Linked DNA regions of Homo sapiens: region 1 is linked to region 2. Evidence: promoter capture Hi-C in 16 types of primary human blood cells and fetal thymus (Javierre and others, 2016). All regions are on one chromosome and are shown on one strand. Each heading gives the region's core, a stretch centred on a gene start or on the middle of the fragment in contact. The rest is flanking DNA. Distances are from core to core; before and after follow the strand shown.

Region 1 (4,668 bases), core at 558-3,057, 8.5 Mb after region 2:
ACTCCTGGCTTCAAGTGATCCTCTTGCCTCCGCCTCCCAAAGCTCTGGCATTACAGGTGTAAGCCACCTTCTCCAACCTGGCTCTCAATACTTGTAACCATGCTGTTTATTTTCTCCCAGCCCAAAGAGAAGCAGGATCCTAAACCGTCCACTTTCCACAACAGGAGCTGCCCAGGACCACTTCAAGGACAGTGAACTGTTTACAGTACCAGAAAGTTCACAACACTTTCTCAATCTTCAACATCAGGGAAGACTGGAAGGTGAAGTTCATATCACTATCTGGCCATTTCTCACAGTTCCAAGTTTCTCAGACAATAGGTAGGCTAACCTAGTCCTCCTGGGAACTATCTAATTAACGTAGAATAGAACCCGAGGGCAGACTTGAAAAACAGAAGTCCTCCTTGGTTTACTTTGTTTCTCTGAAAGCAAATTGTGGAGTGCCAACATAGCCAAACAAAATATTTTATCAACTTCATAAGGTGCTTGTAATTTTTTCCTGGAGCAGGTAAATGCTGGCTTAGTGAACAATCTGGAATGTGGTAATTACTCTCGTTCTTGTTTCAGATGTACTATCAGCATGTAGCAGTTTCCAACTGATTCAGGGTTTTCCTAAAGTGGCAGGCCTTGGCAGAGGTGGTGACAACAATGCCCGTGTCAAATGACACCGTATTTCAAGTATTCTGACTCCAGGTTATTAATATCCCCTATATGATAGTCTTGTTTCTGTGATATTCACAGATTATGTTAAAAGTTTCCCAAAGTCTGAGAAAAATCATATCTTAACAGTATCTTTTTTTTTTTTGATCCTTTGTACAAAAGTAGAAGTAATGCCAGACAGATTACGTACCCTTGTTGTGAACAACTGGTGCATGGCAACTGTTTGAATAGAAATTTACCAACTGCCACAACCAGGCAACTACTCTCCCAGAGCCTAACAATCTCGATTGCATCTGAAAGGGCCACCCCTCCTGGGAAAGTGCAGGACCTCCCTCCTGTTTCTGAATACAAAGCCTGGTGGTGTTCAACGCGGCCAGATAGACCCAATGAGCACACGGACATGTAATCTGTGCACTTCTTTAGACAACTGATTACCATCAGTCAAGTGATGCCCAAGTCACAATAGTCACTTCCTTTAAGCAAGTCTGTGTCATCTCGGAGCTGTGAAGCAACCAGGTCATGTCCCACAGAATGGGGAGCACACCGACTTGCATTGCTGCCCTCATATGCAAGTCATCACCACTCTCTAGAAGCTTGGGCTGAAATTGTGCAGGCGTCTCCACACCCCCATCTCATCCCGCATGATCTCCTCGCCGGCAGGGACCGTCTCGGGTTCCTAGCGAACCCCGACTTGGTCCGCAGAAGCCGCGCGCCGCCCACCCTCCGGCCTTCCCCCAGGCGAGGCCTCTCAGTACCCGAGGCTCCCTTTTCTCGAGCCCGCAGCGGCAGCGCTCCCAGCGGGTCCCCGGGAAGGAGACAGCTCGGGTACTGAGGGCGGGAAAGCAAGGAAGAGGCCAGATCCCCATCCCTTGTCCCTGCGCCGCCGCCGCCGCCGCCGCCGCCGGGAAGCCCGGGGCCCGGATGCAGGCAATTCCACCAGTCGCTAGAGGCGAAAGCCCGACACCCAGCTTCGGTCAGAGAAATGAGAGGGAAAGTAAAAATGCGTCGAGCTCTGAGGAGAGCCCCCGCTTCTACCCGCGCCTCTTCCCGGCAGCCGAACCCCAAACAGCCACCCGCCAGGATGCCGCCTCCTCACTCACCCACTCGCCACCGCCTGCGCCTCCGCCGCCGCGGGCGCAGGCACCGCAACCGCAGCCCCGCCCCGGGCCCGCCCCCGGGCCCGCCCCGACCACGCCCCGGCCCCGGCCCCGGCCCCTAGCGCGCGACTCCTGAGTTCCAGAGCTTGCTACAGGCTGCGGTTGTTTCCCTCCTTGTTTTCTTCTGGTTAATCTTTATCAGGTCTTTTCTTGTTCACCCTCAGCGAGTACTGTGAGAGCAAGTAGTGGGGAGAGAGGGTGGGAAAAACAAAAACACACACCTCCTAAACCCACACCTGCTCTTGCTAGACCCCGCCCCCAAAAGAGAAGCAACCGGGCAGCAGGGACGGCTGACACACCAAGCGTCATCTTTTACGTGGGCGGAACTTGTCGCTGTTTGACGCACCTCTCTTTCCTAGCGGGACACCGTAGGTTACGTCTGTCTGTTTTCTATGTGCGATGACGTTTTCTCACGAGGCTAGCGAAATGGGGCGGGGCAACTTGTCCTGTTCTTTTATCTTAAGACCCGCTCTGGAGGAGCGTTGGCGCAATAGCGTGTGCGAACCTTAATAGGGGAGGCTGCTGGATCTGGAGAAAGTGAAGACGATTTCGTGGTTTTGAATGGTTTTGTTTGTGCTTGGTAGGCAGTGGGCGCTCAACACATAATTGGTGGATGAAATTTTGTTTTTACCGTAAGACACTGTTAAGTGCATTCAAAACTCCACTGCAAACCCTGGTAGGGGACAGCTCCGGCACTGCGGGCGGGAATCCCACGGTCCCCTGCAAAGTCATCGCAATTTTGCCTTTACATGTAAGAATTCTCTCAAGCATGATTTTCACACTGGGGAATGTCATTTTTGCTAGTTGCAATATGTGGATGAGTTGTTTTTTTTTAACTTTTGAAAAACGTACCATTCTGTTTGATGTGTAAAAAACACAAAGATTTTTGAAACCTTGCGTCTTTTGGTCTGCAGGTGTATAGATTCCACTTACTACAGATGAGTAGCATTTACACCACTCAGATGTGTAAAAAAACAAAGGTTTTTTAAACTGTGTGCCTTTTGATCTGCAAGTGTGAGATGGCACTTACTACAGTGAGTAGCATTTAATCTTTTTCATCACTAAAAATCACACAGAACGTTTTAATCATTCACCGAGGAAGAAAGGGAGGAATAAATACACAAAATGGCTCTCAACGTCTACACCTTCTGCAGAAACAGACCCTTTTCCTACTGTTCTATGCTTTGTGAAAGTTGATCATACAAATTGGGTCATTCTTTTTATACCCAACTAAAATAGTGGGGGTAGGGGGTAGAAAAGCACTTAGGACAAATGACACTGCTCCCACAGTGTAATTCTCTCCAAGTCCAGCTGCTGCAACTGCCCGTTGTGACCTGAGACCAGTTTTATCTAATAGTTGCTAAAATGACCTGCTGCAGCTCTAATTTTATCTACCACCATCACTCACCAGTTGAAACTCACCAGCTCCTCAGATCCTTAATAGTGCCAATGAATTTTCTCAAAGAGCACTATGTAACATTTCTCTTTTTTAACAAAACCTCCCCCTTTTCTTTGTTGTGTGGATATACCGAAGACCATCTGATCTACATGTATGCCCTAATTGCAATTCTTTCTTCCCAAATAAATCACTTAATTTAGAGATTCATCTCTGTATTTTTATTTTGACTGACAGCTTATAACAAGTAGCTAGCATTTACCAAGTTTCTACACTGAGTTGTACTTCACTTATACGTGGAATTAAAAAACAACTGAATTTATAGAAACAGAGTAGACCCTTGGTTGGGGGGCTTGGGGGGAAAGAAAATTGTAGGGTAGGGTACAAAGTTGCAGTTACGTCTAATACATCTAGAGATTTAATGTACAACATGAGGACTAGCGTTAATAATTGTGTTAGTCCATTCTTACACTGCTATAAAGAAATAACTGAAACTGGGTAATTTATAAAGAAAAGTTTAATGGCTCACAGTTCTGCAGGCTGTACAAGAAGCATGGCTGGATCAGCTTCTGGGCAGGCCATAGGGAACTTAAAATCATGATGGAAGGCATAGGGAGACCCCAGACTTCACATGGCAGGAACTGGGGGAAGAGAGAAATGGGAGGTGCTACATACGTTTAAACAACTAGATCTTGTCAGAACTCACTATATAGTACCAAGAGGGGACTGTACAAAACCATTAGAAGCCACCCCATAATCCACTCACCTCCCACCAGGCCCAACCTCCAACACTGGGGATTACAGTTGAACATGAGATTTGGGTGGGGACAGAGATCCAAACCATGTTATTCCAACTCTGGCCCCTCCCAAATCTAATGTCCTTCTCATATTGCAAAATACTGTCGTGCCTTACCAACAGTTCCCCAAAGTCTTAACTCGATCCAGCATTCATTCAAAAGTCCAAAGTCCCAAGTCTCACCTGAGACGAAGCTAGTCCCTTCTACCTATGAACCTGTAAAATCAAAAACAAGGTAATTGCTTCAAAGATACAATGGGGGTATAGGCATTGGGCAGATACTGCCATTCCGAAAGGGAGAAATCTGCCAAAAGAAAGAGGCTATAGGGCCCCATTGCAAGTCTGAAAGCCAGCCGGGCAGTCATTAAATGTTAAAGCTCTGAAATAATCTCCTTTGACTCACACCCAGGGAACACTGATGCAATGAGTGGGCTCCCAAAACCTTGGGCAGAACCACCCCTGTGGTTTTCCAGGGTTCATCTCCCACAGCTGCTCTCATGGGCTAGCATTGAGTGCTTGCAGCTTTTCCAGGCTGCAGGGTGCAAGTTGTTGGTGGATCTACCATTCTGGGGTCTGGAGGACGGTGGCTGTCTTGTCATAGCTCTGCTAGGCAGTGCCCCAGGGGACTCTCTGTGGGGGCTGCAACCCCACATTTCTTCTCC
Region 2 (4,681 bases), core at 2,061-4,560:
CACAGGGATTAACAGGTGTGAACCACCATGCCTAGCCTAATTGCATTTTTAAGAGACAGGGTCTCACTATGTTGCCCAGGCTGGTCTCAAATTTCTGGCCTCAAGCAATCTCCCACCTCAGCCTTCTGAGTAGCTGGATTTACAAATGCATCGAGCAATTTTAAAAGTAACTTTGGCAGGGTGCAGTGGCTCATGTCTGTAATCCCAGCACTTTGGGAGGCTGACGCGGGAGGATCACTTAAGCCCAGAGGGTCAAGACCAGCCTCCACAACACAGTGAGAACCCATCTCTACAAAAAGAATAGAATTAAACTTAGCTGCCCAGGTGTGGTGGCTCAGGCCTATAATCCCAGCACTTTGGGAGGCCAAGGCAGGTGGATCACAAGGTCAGGAATTTAAGATTCCGCCTGGCTAAGATGGAGAAACCCGGTCTCTACTAAAAATACAAAAAAATTAGCCAGGCGTGGTGGCAGGCGCCTGTATTCCCAGCTACTCAGGAGGCTGAGGCAGAGAATTGCTTGAACCAGGGAGGCGGGGGTTGCAGTGAGTCCAGATCGCACCACTGCACTCCCGCCTGGGCGACAGAGCAAGACTCCATCTCAAAAAAAAAAGAATTAAAACTAGCCAGGCGTGGCAGCAGGCACCTGTAATTCCAGCTATTCGGGAGGCTGAAGTGGAAGGAAGGATCGCTTGAGCCCAGGAGATGGAGGCTGCAGTGAGCCACATTCAGGCCACTGCACTCCAGCCTGAGAGACAGAGCCAGACTATCTCAAAAAATAAAAACAAAAAAGTAAATTTAATGCCACATCCATGTTGAAAGCATTTAAAGTGGACATGTGTTACAAGATGGTGGATCCTGCAGAGAAAAGGGAATGCTTGTACTTTGTTGGTGGAATGTAAAGTAGTACAGCCATTATGGGAAACCATAGGCTCCTTAAAAAACTAAAAATAGAAGTACCCTATGATCCAGCAATCCCACTGCTGGGTATATATCCAAAAGGAAGGAGATCAGTATATGAAAGAGGCATCTGCACTCCCATGTTTAGTGACACATTATTCACAATAGTCGAGATACAGAATCAACCTAAGTTGAATGGATAAAGAAAACAGATGAATGGATAAAGAAATTGTGGTATATATACACAATGGAATATTATTCAGCCACACAAAAAGAAGAAAATCCTGTCATCTGCAGCAACATGGATGGGACTGGAGGTCATTATCTTAAGTAAAATAAACCAGGCACGGAAAGACAAATATCACATGTTCTCACATGTGAAAGCAAAAAAAGTGGACCTCATGGAGGTAGGGAGTAGAATGGTGGTTAACACAGTCTAGGAAAGGAAAAGGAGAGAAGGAGGGAGGAAGAGAAGTTGATTAATGGGTACAAATATACAGTTAGATAGAAGGAATAAGTTCTAGTGTTCAATAGTACATAAGTGAAACTATAGTTAAAAATAATTTATTGTGTATTTTAAAATAGCTAGAAAAGAACTGAAATGTTTCCAACACAAAGGAAAGATAAATGTTTGAGATGATGGCTATCCCATTTATCCTGATCTGATCCTTATACATTGTATAAGTGTATCAAAATATCAAAATTTTATATCCCCAAAATATGTACAACTATGAACATAAATAAAACAGGCCAGGCTCGGTGGCTCACATCTGTAATCCCAGCACTTGGAGTGGCCAAGGCGGGGGGATTGCTGGAGGCCAGGAGCTCAAGACCAGCCTGGGCAACATGCCGACCCTAGGCATGGTGCCACGCACCTGTAGTCCCAGCTACTCAGGAGGGTGAAGTGGGAGGATCGCCTGAGCCCAGGAGTTGGAGGCTGCAGTGAGCTGTGATCGCACAACTGCACTCCAGACTGGGCGACAGAGTGGGAGACCCTGTCTCAAAACAAAAAACAATGGCTCATATCTATAATCCCAGCACTTTGGAAGACCGAAGCAGGAGGATTGCTTGAGCCCAGGAATTTTGAGACCAGCCTGGGCAACATGGTTAGCTACTGTCTCTAAAATAATAATACTTTAAAAAAATAGAGGCCGGGCACGGTGGCTCACGCCTGTAATCCCAGCACTTTGGGAGGCCGAGGCAGGTGGATCATGAGCTCAGGAGATCGAGACCATCCTGGCCAACATGGTGAAACCCCGTCTCTACTAAAGATACAAAAATTGGTTGGGCGTGGTGGCAAGTGCCTGTAATCCCAGCTACTCGGGAGGCTGAGGCAGGAGAATCGCTTGAACCAGGGAGTTGGAGGGTGCAGTGAGCCGAGATCGTGCCACTGCACTCCAGCCTGGCAACAGAGGGAGACTCCATATGAAAGAAAAGAATTCCTCTTGGCCTACAGTGGGAATGATTAAATAGAGATACTGGCTAAAGTTGATAAAACAGAAGTGGAAAAAGTAGGGAAGGGGCTTTTACTTTCCATACTTTTCTTAAAAGGGTATTTGTTTTTAATACCCTTCTCCGTTGTTTTATGCTAACTCCAACATGCCTTACTAATTAAAAAATTAAAAATTATAAAATTAAACAACCACCTTCAAAGGCTCCCTTGAGTCCAAAAGGTGTTTTGTACATATGGTTCCCATGCTCTTCCACTACCACCCGCCATCCCTCCCACTACTTCACAGACCACCCCTCCACCACATAGGCAGAGTTAAGCTGCTCCTCCAGTCTTGCACTCTCCCCATCTGCAGACTTTTGCACTCCCCTACAGAGCGCTTCCGGCACTCTTGCATTATTTACTGTCTGTCTCTGCCCCTAGGCTGGCAGCAACTGGGAGTAGGAACTTTGGAGCCAATGCCTGGCACAGAGTAACTGCTCAACCAATTCTGATTAATCAACCTCCGGGGTCTACAAAAGGGGGAGTCCCCCGGCGTCCCCCGGTTCAGGCTCCCTCGCCCCGCCGGCCCCGGCCTCCTTACACTCCGAGGTGCGTGTGCGACACGATCTTTCCGCAGGCAATGGTTGCCGGGCCTGGCTCGAAGCCGAGCGCCTGCAGATACATCCAGAGATGCTCCTTCTCGAAAGCGGTGACCGAGGCCGAGCTCATCCTCGCGGTAGGCACGGTGGCTGCAAAGAAAGAAAGCGCAAGCCCAGGGGACTCGGAGGGCCCTCAAGATCCCTCCCTACGGTCAGCCTGAGGTCGCGGTGGTCCTTCCATTGCCAACGCCTGCTCCTTTCACGCCCAGAGCGATTTCGCCTCAAAGGGCCTCACAACCTCCGGGAAATTGAGTTTCTAACGGTATAGTGCGGCCACCACTGCCTCAGCGAAGCCACCACAAACCGAGACTCCCGCCCTTAAGGAAGAGCAGTGTGCGCCGGCGCCGCCAGGCGTCCGAGGGAGGAGGGACTTCCGGCAAAGACTATATCTCCCGCCATGCAATGCGTCCTTCTCTCCTCCCTTCCGGCCATGCCCAGCCAAGAAACTGCAAGACCCACCGGGCATTGCGCGGCCAGCGACTTGCTCTGCGCTTGCTTAACCGCTGTCGTGCCCAGATCCTCGGGCCTTCGGGTTTCTGATTCTTGGTTAGTGGGGTCCATTTGCTTGTGTATCCTAGTTGTTACGTCACAAAAAAGCCATAAATGGAGCACTATGCCTCGGTGTAGAGTTAAAGCATTGGTTCCATCCTCCGCTATGCTCACTGTGACTCTAATCAAGTCACGTAATCTCTGAGCCTCATTTCTGTCGTTAGCGAAATCTATGTCCTCAAATGCCGGATGTTCCTTTTCCTGCTTTAAATGAAATCTGGCTCTATACTCCCCTGCAGTCCTGCAGTCTTTTTTTTTTTTTTTTTTTTTTTTGAGACGGGGTTTCGCTCTTGTTGCTCAAGTTGGGGTGCAGTGACGCGATTTCGGCTCACTGCAACCTCCGCCTCCCGGGTTCAAGCGATTCTCCTGCCTCAGCCTCCCGAGTAGCTGGGATTAACAGGTGTCCGCCACCACGCCCGGCTAATTTTTTTGTATTTTTAATGGAGACGGGGTTTCACCATGTTGGCTGGCTGGTCTCGAACTCCTGACCTCAGGTTATCTGCCGGTCTTGGCCTCCCAAAGTGCTGGGATTACAGGCGTGAGCCACTGCGCCTGGCCGCCTGCAGTCCTCTTAATTTTTTTTTTTTTTTTTTTTTTTTTTTTGAGACGGAGTCTAGCTCTGTCTCCCAGGCTGGAGTGCAGTGGCGCAATCTCGGCTCACTGCAAGCTCCGCCTCCCAGGTTCACGCCATTCTCCTGCCTCAGCCTCCCGAGTAGCTGGGACTACAGGCTCCCACCACCACGCCGGGCTAATTTTTTGTATTTTTAGTAGAGACGGGGTTTCACCCTGTTAGCCAGGATGGTCTCGATCTCCTGACCTCGTGATCCGCCCTCCTCGGCCTCCCGAAGTGCTGGGATTATAGGCGTGAGCCACCGCACCCGGCCCGTCGTCTTAATTGACAGCTGTTGCCTACCACAAACCCCACTGACAACAGGGCCTGGAAGTGGATTGGGTAACCTGCTTTTAAGTCTCATTGCTACCTCTGGCAATGATTGTCTCCTGCCTCACTAAAATCACCTTAATAAAAGAGAGAGAGGCGGGGCACAGTGGCTCACGCCTATAATCCCAGCACTTTGGGAGGCCAAGGTGGGCGGATCACCTGAGGTGGGGAGTTCGAGACCAGCCTGACCAACATGTAGAAACC

Evidence for each region. Contacts are between HindIII fragments. The CHiCAGO score rates a contact against its expected background, and 5 or more counts as called.
Region 1: the fragment with the promoter of C9orf72 here is called in contact with the fragment with the promoter of HAUS6 in region 2 in 1 of 17 cell types (non-activated CD4 T cells); the score reaches 7.4 in non-activated CD4 T cells.

Annotation. Positions count from the first base shown.
Region 1 is chr9:27,571,674-27,576,341 of GRCh38, forward strand. C9orf72 (C9orf72-SMCR8 complex subunit) reads right to left here and starts at 1,808. Exons shown (of 11, transcript NM_018325.5): 1 at 1,758-1,808. RefSeq lists enhancers at 1,202-1,291, 1,890-2,417 and a silencer at 1,802-1,881. The HindIII fragment of the contact is 3,790 bases long and covers 1,249-4,668 here.
Region 2 is chr9:19,099,594-19,104,274 of GRCh38, forward strand. HAUS6 (HAUS augmin like complex subunit 6) reads right to left here and starts at 3,311. Exons shown (of 17, transcript NM_017645.5): 1 at 2,931-3,311. The coding sequence starts at 3,058. RefSeq lists an enhancer at 2,990-3,553. The HindIII fragment of the contact is 8,228 bases long and covers 1-4,681 here.